Linked DNA regions of Homo sapiens: region 1 is linked to region 2. Evidence: promoter capture Hi-C in 16 types of primary human blood cells and fetal thymus (Javierre and others, 2016). All regions are on one chromosome and are shown on one strand. Each heading gives the region's core, a stretch centred on a gene start or on the middle of the fragment in contact. The rest is flanking DNA. Distances are from core to core; before and after follow the strand shown. Region 1 overlaps LOC105372932 (a long non-coding RNA gene). Region 2 holds the start of HLX (H2.0 like homeobox).

Evidence for each region. The method cuts DNA at HindIII sites, captures the fragments that hold promoters and counts their contacts. A CHiCAGO score of 5 or more calls a contact.
Region 1: a contact is called between a fragment that was not itself captured here and the fragment with the promoter of HLX in region 2, in 1 of 17 cell types (endothelial precursors). The highest score is 10.6, in endothelial precursors.

What each region holds. Positions count from the first base shown.
Region 1 is chr1:221,391,693-221,396,491 of GRCh38, forward strand. All of the region lies in intron 3 of LOC105372932 (a long non-coding RNA gene), which reads left to right. Among named protein-coding and RNA genes, the nearest start is that of LINC02817, 58 kb to the left of the region's middle. The HindIII fragment of the contact is 535 bases long and covers 1,548-2,082 here.
Region 2 is chr1:220,878,162-220,882,614 of GRCh38, forward strand. HLX (H2.0 like homeobox) reads left to right here and starts at 1,282. Exons shown (of 4, transcript NM_021958.4): 1 at 1,282-2,288; 2 at 3,033-3,212; 3 at 4,003-4,187. The coding sequence starts at 1,697. HLX-AS1 (HLX antisense RNA 1) reads right to left here and starts at 1,979. Exons shown (of 3, transcript NR_046901.1): 1 at 1,688-1,979. RefSeq lists a silencer at 839-888 and an enhancer at 2,007-2,615. The HindIII fragment of the contact is 7,579 bases long and covers 1-4,453 here.

The DNA.
Region 1 (4,799 bases), core at 565-3,064, 510 kb after region 2:
GTCTAGATTCTGCTTGGCCTCTCTGAGCATGCATTCCTTCCTTCTGGATATAGGGCAGAAGCCTCTCTGGAATGAGGATCTTATGACCTACAGTCAAAAATGTTAGCCCAGGTAATTTCTTTATGGTCAATTTTTACGCAGAAAGATAGAGGGAAAGTTAGAGCAATATTTTTAGGTTTTATGGCTGGCTTTGTGGAAAAGAGGTTCTGGTTTCTATGACCTGCCTTAGAGAAGAGGGCTTCTAGTTTCTAAAGAATTCTCTAGTTTCTACAGATTCTCACCTTGGGAGAGAATGGGACTGAGAGTTAGGGGGGCAGGAGAAGGTCAGAGAAAAACTTTTGCTTCTGAGGCTTTCATTTTGGGGTATTATTTTTGGAGCCCCAGCAACTTCCTTCATATATTTATGCAGATTGCTGTTGTCTAAAATGGTAAACTTTTAGAAGATGGGCACTGTCTTTATTGGTGTATTAGCATCTCTGCACTTTGAGTTAGAACAGTGATACTAAGCCCTAATTTTTCATTCTCCAGGTGATATTTTTTAGTGACATCCACTTTTTCTTCTTTGATAGTTCTAACTCCTTGACTAATTCTCAAAATAAATTCTTTTCAATTAACCATAATTTACAAATACTATGTGCAGAGAGTATTTCTAAGGTTATTTGGAAGCAGCAATATAAACATTTGTCATAACTCCTCCCAAATTGGAAATGGATCTATGAGAGGATAACAGCTAATAGTGTTACTATTCATATGTATAAAAGTGACTTAATTGATGAGGGTGAGGAGCAGGGCAGGTTAAATCTTTCCTTTTATGAATACTGTTGTTTCCTGATATGCCTAGTTTCAAGAAGTTGGGCAAGCTAGAAGTTGGATTATGACTTCATCACCTATGACTCACATGGAATGCACAATTTTGATCCAAAACTTTTGTTCTAATAAGATTTCAACTTCCAAACATTGGTAGCAATGAGAGCCAAGAGCAGGAATGTGACAGTGTGCCAGGTTGATCACAGTGTTTAGGGTTTTGTTTTTTTTTTTTTTGTGAAATGAAGTCTCACTCCATTGCCCAGGCTGGAGTGGAGTTGTGCAATCTCGTCTCACTGCAACCTCCACCTCCTGGGTTCAAGAGATTCTCCTGCCTCAGCCTCTTGAGTAGCTGGGACTACAGGCACGTGCCACCACACCCAGCTAATTTTTTGTATTTTTAGTAGAGAAGGAGTTTCACTGTGTTAGCCAGGATGGTCTCAATCTCCTGACCTCGTGATCCATCCGCCTCGGCCTTCCAAAATGTTGGGATTACAGGCATGAGCCACTGCACCTGGCCTATGCTTTCTTTTTAACAAAAGTTGTTTTCAACAAAATTTGACTTTGCTCAAGAATGGCACTAGTTTTTAGAAAAATTTTGGAGTGGTGAAGTCAAGGAATTTTCAACTGAAGTAGATCATGTGCTCATTGACAGCAGCAAAATGGCATCCGTGGGGGATCCTAACATAGAGGCACCATTTCTCCACTCAGGGAAAGGATTAGGCATAGAAATGCAAACATCAAGCTTTGCTTGGTACACTATTATTTCCTTGCTGAACTCCAGATGATAAGGTAACCAACTGGCCCTGAAATCGTAAGTGGGTGAATTCAACTATCAGATGCTTTACTGTGATAAAAGTGTCAATAATATCTCAGACTTAGGCAGTGCTTTGTAGTCTACAGAGAACTTTCATCTACTTTCTCTCACTGGATCTTATCACTTGATTCCTTATGATAGGCAAAGTTAATATGCATATTATCAAGTCCAGGTCTAGCTCAGTCCTTGCTGCATACATTATTCGTGCTTAACTACTTATAGAATTGAAGTTGTTGAATCTACGGTTTCAGATAAGAAAAGAATGTTTAATGATTTCTGCAAACTCAGCCATACCAGGTGAAACTGCTAAGACTTAAAGCCATCTTTTATGCCTTGTGTCCTCTGATGTTGCCATTGGCGCTTGTAAGAACACTTCTTTTCCCCAAGTCACTGTTGATACCAAAGAAAGCTATTATCCCCACATCTATCCCTGGTGCCACTGAGCGGTAAGGATTTGAACAAGCTTGAGAATAGTGTTTAAAGTAATTAGTTCCATATTAAAAAGAAAAAGAAGAGAGAGTAGGAAGGAGCAGTAAGCAGAAAGATGATTAAGGCTTTGGGTGTGGATCAGAATGGTATTTAAAATAAATACAACAAAAGTTATCCAATAATCAGTAAACAGTAATATAATTAGAATTTTTTTTTCCTATTTACTTCCTTTAACATGCAATGGGGGGAAATGGTAACAAAAAAAAAAGTCAAGGACTCAATCAAACAGATGGTTCTCAAGTTATTATTTTCTCCTTACTGTTGTTTACAAGAAAAAACTCCTTTAACAAACCGTGACTCACAGATTCCAGTGGGACCAGAAATTCTCTATGTGAAGGAGAGGAAAATAGTGGGAAGAGAACCCGCATCATAAACTTTTATTATGCACATTATTATGCCTCATTAATTAACCCAACCACTGTCCTAGTGACGTCTTGGGCTCACTTCACAGGAAAAAATTAGTCTGGATTGCCAAGTTAAATAGACAATTACAGGAAGATCAAATTATGCCTACATTGCATTCTGTCAGGGCATCAAGCCAAATTCATGTCAAACTCATAAGACTGGAATATCCTTAAAAAAACAGCCCTGAAGAACCAATGTCACAAGCCATTTGACGTCCACACGGAGGATGTATTGATCTTGCCTGAGCTTCCTTTCTCAGAATCGCATAACAGACCAAGAAAGAGGGCTTTCTGAGCATCTTACTCTCTTCCACACAGCAGCTGGCTAGATCCTTTGTTATGTACAATAAAGCACAATGAAACAGGGAAAAACATCCCACCTCATGAGCTCCATCCCTCATCCTGGCTGGCAGCTGTCACAGATCTGAAGAAACAGCTTAGACATTTAAAGAGAACAATGAAAATCCCCAGTGTAGGTTTTCCACAGTGGAACCCTTGGTTCTGTCCATGATCTTGAGGAACACTTTTCCAAAAAATCTGAGCTGAGGCCAAAATGAATAAAGCTCACCCCAGATTTTCAGAACCCACAGTGGAATGCCTGATGTCCCCAGCACCAGAGACAACACGATACTGGAGAGAATAAGAACAATTGCCACAATGCTTTCAGGTAAGGTGATGTTTGCTGGTGGTTCAGGACTCAAAAAGAGAATTGAATGTGTCTTGTATCTACTGAGGAATGAAAGTTTAAGAATTTAAGTGTGGAAGACTGGATGCAACTTGGAAAGAAAGCTTCTTCCTGATTCCCATTCTGGGACATTCCTCCTTTATAATCAGAAGTGTCTACCTGAAGCCTTTTTCCATGTTACTTCCATTTTATGAAGAACCCCCGCTCCCTCAAGTGGTAGAATCTATTTGCTCCCCTCTTGTGGTTTTCTATGAAACAAGAATTATGTTTTAAGAATCCTGAGCTCAAACCTAAAGAAGACTAGCAGGTTACATGTTATATCTCTGAAAAATCAGCTGACATATAAGTTCCGCTCCCTTGGAATCACCATATTGTGAGGAAGCACAAGCTAGCTGAAGGAAGCACCACATGGAGGAGAACCAAAGAAGTCAGAGAATAATGAGAACTTACCCATATGGCTTCTGTTAAATTGTCCCAGCCAGCTGTTACTGGTCAGCCATCCTAGCTCATGCCTGGAAATTGCGGAGTAGAGATGAGCTATCCCCACTGTGCTCTGTCTGAATTGTAAGCAAATAAATGGCTGTTGTTTTCTGGTGGCAAGTGTGGAGAGATATTTTTCCATGCAGATGACTAGAATACCCTCCAAATCTGGCATGGATGCTTCTCCTGTGATCTTTGTGCCATTGCGGACCTCCAGCATGTTACTATCCTGCTGCAATATCCAAAACAAAGATGTCTTTCTCTGGCCTTCTCCCTTGCCCCAATTTTGTCCTCTTTAAGGATGTGGAAACTTATTATCTTAATAGTCGTCACAATTTCTCTTAGGGAGGGAATTCTCTTCATTTGTAAATATAAGTTTCTGAGCCCCTGGGGATTGAATGCTCTGTGGGCAATAGTCAAGGCTTCCAAGAAAAATGGCTAAACTTGTCTGCCTAGGAAAGGAAGTGTTTTGGAATGTAATGAGAGAGAGAGGGACAGAGAGACAGAGAGACAGAGAGAGACAGAGAGAAAGGGAAGAGAGAGAGCTCTGAAGAGGCCCCGGGAGGCAGAAGATCTCCCCTGTGTAGGGAGGCAACCAATGGACAGTTCCCTATGACCCATGAGAGAAACTAAGGCACATATTGAAATGAAAATGACTACTGTAAAATTTGAATTTGCCTGGTGTTTTGACATGCTATATCCCTTCCTCCTTGTCCATCTCTTCCCCATAAAACCACCATATCTTACCACACTCATACCAAAAGCATGGGCAACAAAAGAAAACATACATAGGAGAGGTGGAGTAAGATGGTAGAATACAAAGCTCCACTGATTGCTTTCCCTCCCCACATCCCCACCAAAGACACCAAGTTAACAACTATCTACACAGAAAAAAACACCTTCATACAAACCAAAAATCAGGTGAACACTCACAGTACCTGGTTATGACTTCGTATCACTGAAAGAGGTGCTGAATAAATAGAAAATACACTCCTGAATGGCTGATGCCACCCCTACCCCACCCTGGCAGCAGAGGTGTGATGCAGAGAGCTTCTCTAGGTGCTGGGAGAGGGAGAACACAGCAGTTGTGAGGCACTAAACTCATACTGTCCTGTTAGAG
Region 2 (4,453 bases), core at 32-2,531:
AGAATCCCTGTTAGGAGATGCTTATTAGGGCAATCGAAAACAAAAGTTTTCGTGGTTTCATTATTCGTATTATTTTATTTTCTTCCTGAAAATGTGCAAGAACAGCTCATCTGGGTGGCCTGTGGTTTGTTTGGGAGAGGGGTGGGGAAATTCATTCTGACTATAATTTAAAGAGAAGAAATTCTTAAAATAGATATGTCGATGTTGCACAAAACCTCCACCACCACTACCCTGCGTTCTAAAGACCCAAGGCACGAATGGAAGACGTTGACCACCACGCAGCTCCTCCTGCAACCAGGCCCAAGGGGTTCCTGGGGAAGCTGTCACAGAATTGAAAGCAGTATTGAACCCCACGGAAATCTGCTCTTGTGGGCACTTGCAAAACAACGAACCCCACGTGATCCGGAGATGTGGTGGAGGGGTGAGGCTAACATTTCCTACAACCTCCTGCAAAGGATGGAAGCGCGTGCCGCTCTCCCGGGTTTCGGGAGGCAGCCTGTTTTGTAGCCTCTGAGGCTCCGGGGAAAGGTTTGGCTGCGTCTAAGAGAGACGTTTGGAGCCATCCGTCTTATTTTGTTTGAAAAGTCACTCGTTCAATTTGTCACTGTGTGACAGCTCAGAATAAAACCAATTTGCGGCCGCCCCTCCTCCTCGCTTCCCGGAGGATCTCCTGGGAGGCACGAGGCGGACGCGGTGCTGAGTTGGGCCGGGACTCAGGGCGGCAACATTTGGGCAAGGGCCCAGGAAAGATGAGGGGCTTTGCCGAGGACACGGACTCCTGGAATAAAAGCAGAATGAGGTCAAGAGAAGGGAAGCAAAGGGGCCAAAGCGCGCTCCGCTCTCCACCGGGAGGCGGGCTTTGCAGAGCCCTAAAGAGTGAGATTACCGTCCCTTCCCCACGCCCCCAACTCGCCCCGGGTGACAAGCGCTTCAGGAAAGCTCCTGTGATCAACCCTCCTTGCCCCGTGGCGGTTCGGAGCTGCAGAAGTTAGAAGAGAGTCAGAGCCCTCCGGAGCGGCTGCCTGGCCCCTACGCAGAGTAGCAAGAAGCACTGCGATGTGCGCTACTAAGCCCACGCGGCCGCAGCAAAAACTTTGGCGTGGCCGGGGCGTGGCTAGGGTCCGGCCAGGCCCCCTTGTTCCTAATTCCCCTCCACTCCCCGCTCCCATTGGTCACGAGGATGACCAATGAGCGCTCGGATCGAGGTCCTACCCCGGGCCTGACTCGAAAGCTCCTGCCAAAACTTTGGGAGTTTTTAGAGACGAGTTTTTTTTTTTTTCTATTACTTTTCCCCCCCCCTAACTAACGGACTATTATTGTTGTTGTTTTAAATTTAGCTCTTAGGGCTTAGCTATTTGGGTTTTCTTGCGGTGTCCGGCTCCCGTCTCCCTGGCTCCCCCGCCCGCCCTGCGGCCCCAGCGCCCCTCGCTCTCATCCAGCCCGCGAGGAGTGCGGGCGCCGCGCCGCCTTTAAAGCGAGGCCAGGGAGCGAGGCGGTGACCGGCCGAGATCCGGCCCTCGCCTCCTCCCTCGGTGGCGCTAGGGCTCCCGGCCTCTCTTCCTCAGTGCGGGCGGAGAAGCGAAAGCGGATCGTCCTCGGCTGCCGCCGCCTTCTCCGGGACTCGCGCGCCCCTCCCCGCGCGCCCACCCACCCAGTCCGGCTGGACTGCGGCAGCCGCGCGGCTCACCCCGGCAGGATGTTCGCAGCCGGGCTGGCTCCCTTCTACGCCTCCAACTTCAGCCTCTGGTCGGCCGCTTACTGCTCCTCGGCCGGCCCAGGCGGCTGCTCCTTCCCCTTGGACCCCGCCGCCGTCAAAAAGCCCTCCTTCTGCATCGCAGACATTCTGCACGCCGGCGTGGGGGATCTGGGGGCGGCCCCGGAGGGCCTGGCAGGGGCCTCGGCCGCCGCCCTCACCGCGCACTTGGGCTCGGTTCACCCGCACGCCTCTTTCCAAGCGGCGGCCAGATCCCCGCTTCGACCCACCCCAGTGGTGGCGCCCTCCGAAGTCCCGGCTGGCTTCCCGCAGCGGCTGTCTCCGCTCTCAGCCGCCTACCACCACCATCACCCGCAACAACAACAGCAGCAGCAACAGCCGCAGCAGCAACAGCCTCCGCCTCCGCCCCGGGCTGGCGCCCTGCAGCCCCCGGCCTCGGGGACGCGAGTGGTTCCGAACCCCCACCACAGTGGCTCTGCCCCGGCCCCCTCCAGCAAAGACCTCAAATTTGGAATTGACCGCATTTTATCTGCAGAATTTGACCCAAAAGTCAAAGAAGGCAACACGCTGAGAGGTAGGTCTTGGGCGGGAGGCTGCAGGCCTCTGACCACTGACCCACTCCCCGGACCCCGGGCTGGCTTGGGGTGCCTTTGAGTGTTTTTACAATTAAGGACAAATCGGTAAAACGGGAGAGAAGAAAACGAATTGTAAGAAAACTACAAAACATTAGGTCTAAAACTCACCTGTTCTATGTAAAACAAACAAAAAATGACTCCAGGGATTCTTTAAAAACACGTCTTAGAATCAATATTTATAAAAGTGGTTGGTGTAATTATCTGCTAACATGACTTTGATCTCTTTAATAATGTATCTAGAGACAGAATTATATTTTCTGACAGCTAAAGCATTTTTGGGAAACACTTTCGCACTTATCTGATTTCTAGTAAAAATTTCACCCAGGAAATGTAAATAATAAACAAAACCGCCTAGATGAGCGGGCAGAGTGGGGCCACCTTGGGGCGGAGGTTTTGCGTCTGTGGCGTTCTTGGAAGACACGTGAAAGTGAGGCCGTAAGCCGATTTATGTAAAGCCTTTACTTACTATATACATGCATATGGACGTGAGGGACACACAGGAACTTTTCGTGCGTCGCTCCTTGGCAACTGTTGGGAGAGAGAGGTTTCAGCGCCTAGACGGGTTCTCTCTTGACTTCGCTCAATAAAAGTGAATCCAGGGCAAGGGGAAGGGGAGGAACAAATCAGCGGAGAGTGTGAGTGTGCCCGAGATGTAACCTGCTATCCTTTTCCCTTGTCCCCAGATCTCACTTCCCTGCTAACCGGTGGGCGGCCCGCCGGGGTGCACCTCTCAGGCCTGCAGCCCTCGGCCGGCCAGTTCTTCGCATCTCTAGATCCCATTAACGAGGCTTCTGCAATCCTGAGTCCCTTAAACTCGAACCCAAGAAATTCAGTTCAGCATCAGTTCCAAGACACGTTTCCAGGTACGGAAAAACTCCAGAGTACTGCCTAACGGGCGAGCCGACTAACAGTCAGAAATCTCAGGACTGACGCCTCCAGGGCTGCCACGGTGTCGCAATCTCACAATTGGGGCGGGAGGCTACGGAGTCAGGAGAGAGAAACCGAAAGATTTCTCAGCGAGCTAGCGCTCGCTTCGGATGGTTCCCCTTGAAAAGGGGTAGAGGCGCCTGGAGATCCCAGAAAGTGTGTGCGTGGACGGTGGGGTGGGGGGCTTTCTCGAAGTCTTTTCGCCCCAGAGGGCTTGAAAAATGCAGCATCAATGTTGCTTATTAGCATATACACATTTTGGGATGACCTCAAACACTTGTGCTTGGCGAGTTTATGTCTGGGTGCCTGGACACATGCGGGAATAAACACACACACACACACACACACACACACACACACACACACACACACACACGAGATAATTCAATTCAGGGCTGTCATCATTCAGGCCCAAGGGACATTTTTGTCTACTCTTCGTAGGCCTGATGGCCACGCATGAGGTTTATGTTTTTCTCTTGGAATTAAAGGACAAGCCGCCAGGCTTCTCCACTCCACGCTCGCTTTAGGTCTTCCGACTGTCGTGTAAAATTCCTCCTTAGAGGGGCCATTCGGTGTATGTGCGAAGGGCTTTCTGAATGAGGGTGGAATCGACAGTTAACACGAAACAGTTTCAAGCCTTACGGGGACCCCCAGGCTGGCAGGTCAAGGACTGGACACTGAACGGCCCTCTTGTCTTTCTTCCCTCTGGCTCCCGTTCTGCGGCAGGTCCCTATGCTGTGCTCACGAAGGACACCATGCCGCAGACGTACAAAAGGAAGCGTTCATGGTCGCGCGCTGTGTTCTCCAACCTGCAGAGGAAAGGCCTGGAGAAAAGGTTTGAGATTCAGAAGTACGTGACCAAGCCGGACCGAAAGCAGCTGGCGGCGATGCTGGGCCTCACGGACGCACAGGTAAGGCAGTTCTGGCTCCAGCGCACAGCGCCCTCGGGCGGGCAGCAGCGCACGGCCTAGTCTGGTAGGTCCCCTCCATCCCGGCCGACTGGCCTCCTGCGGTGCAAACGCAAGATCTTGACTTTCAAGAGGCTTTGTGGACTACGCAACTTGAGGCAGGAGAAGAGGAGGGTGGAGATGGGGTGAGGGAGAAGGACCGAGAGAAGAGCTCATCCCCAAGATGTGTGTCAACAAGCACTGCATGTTTATTTTGGCCAACAGGCTAA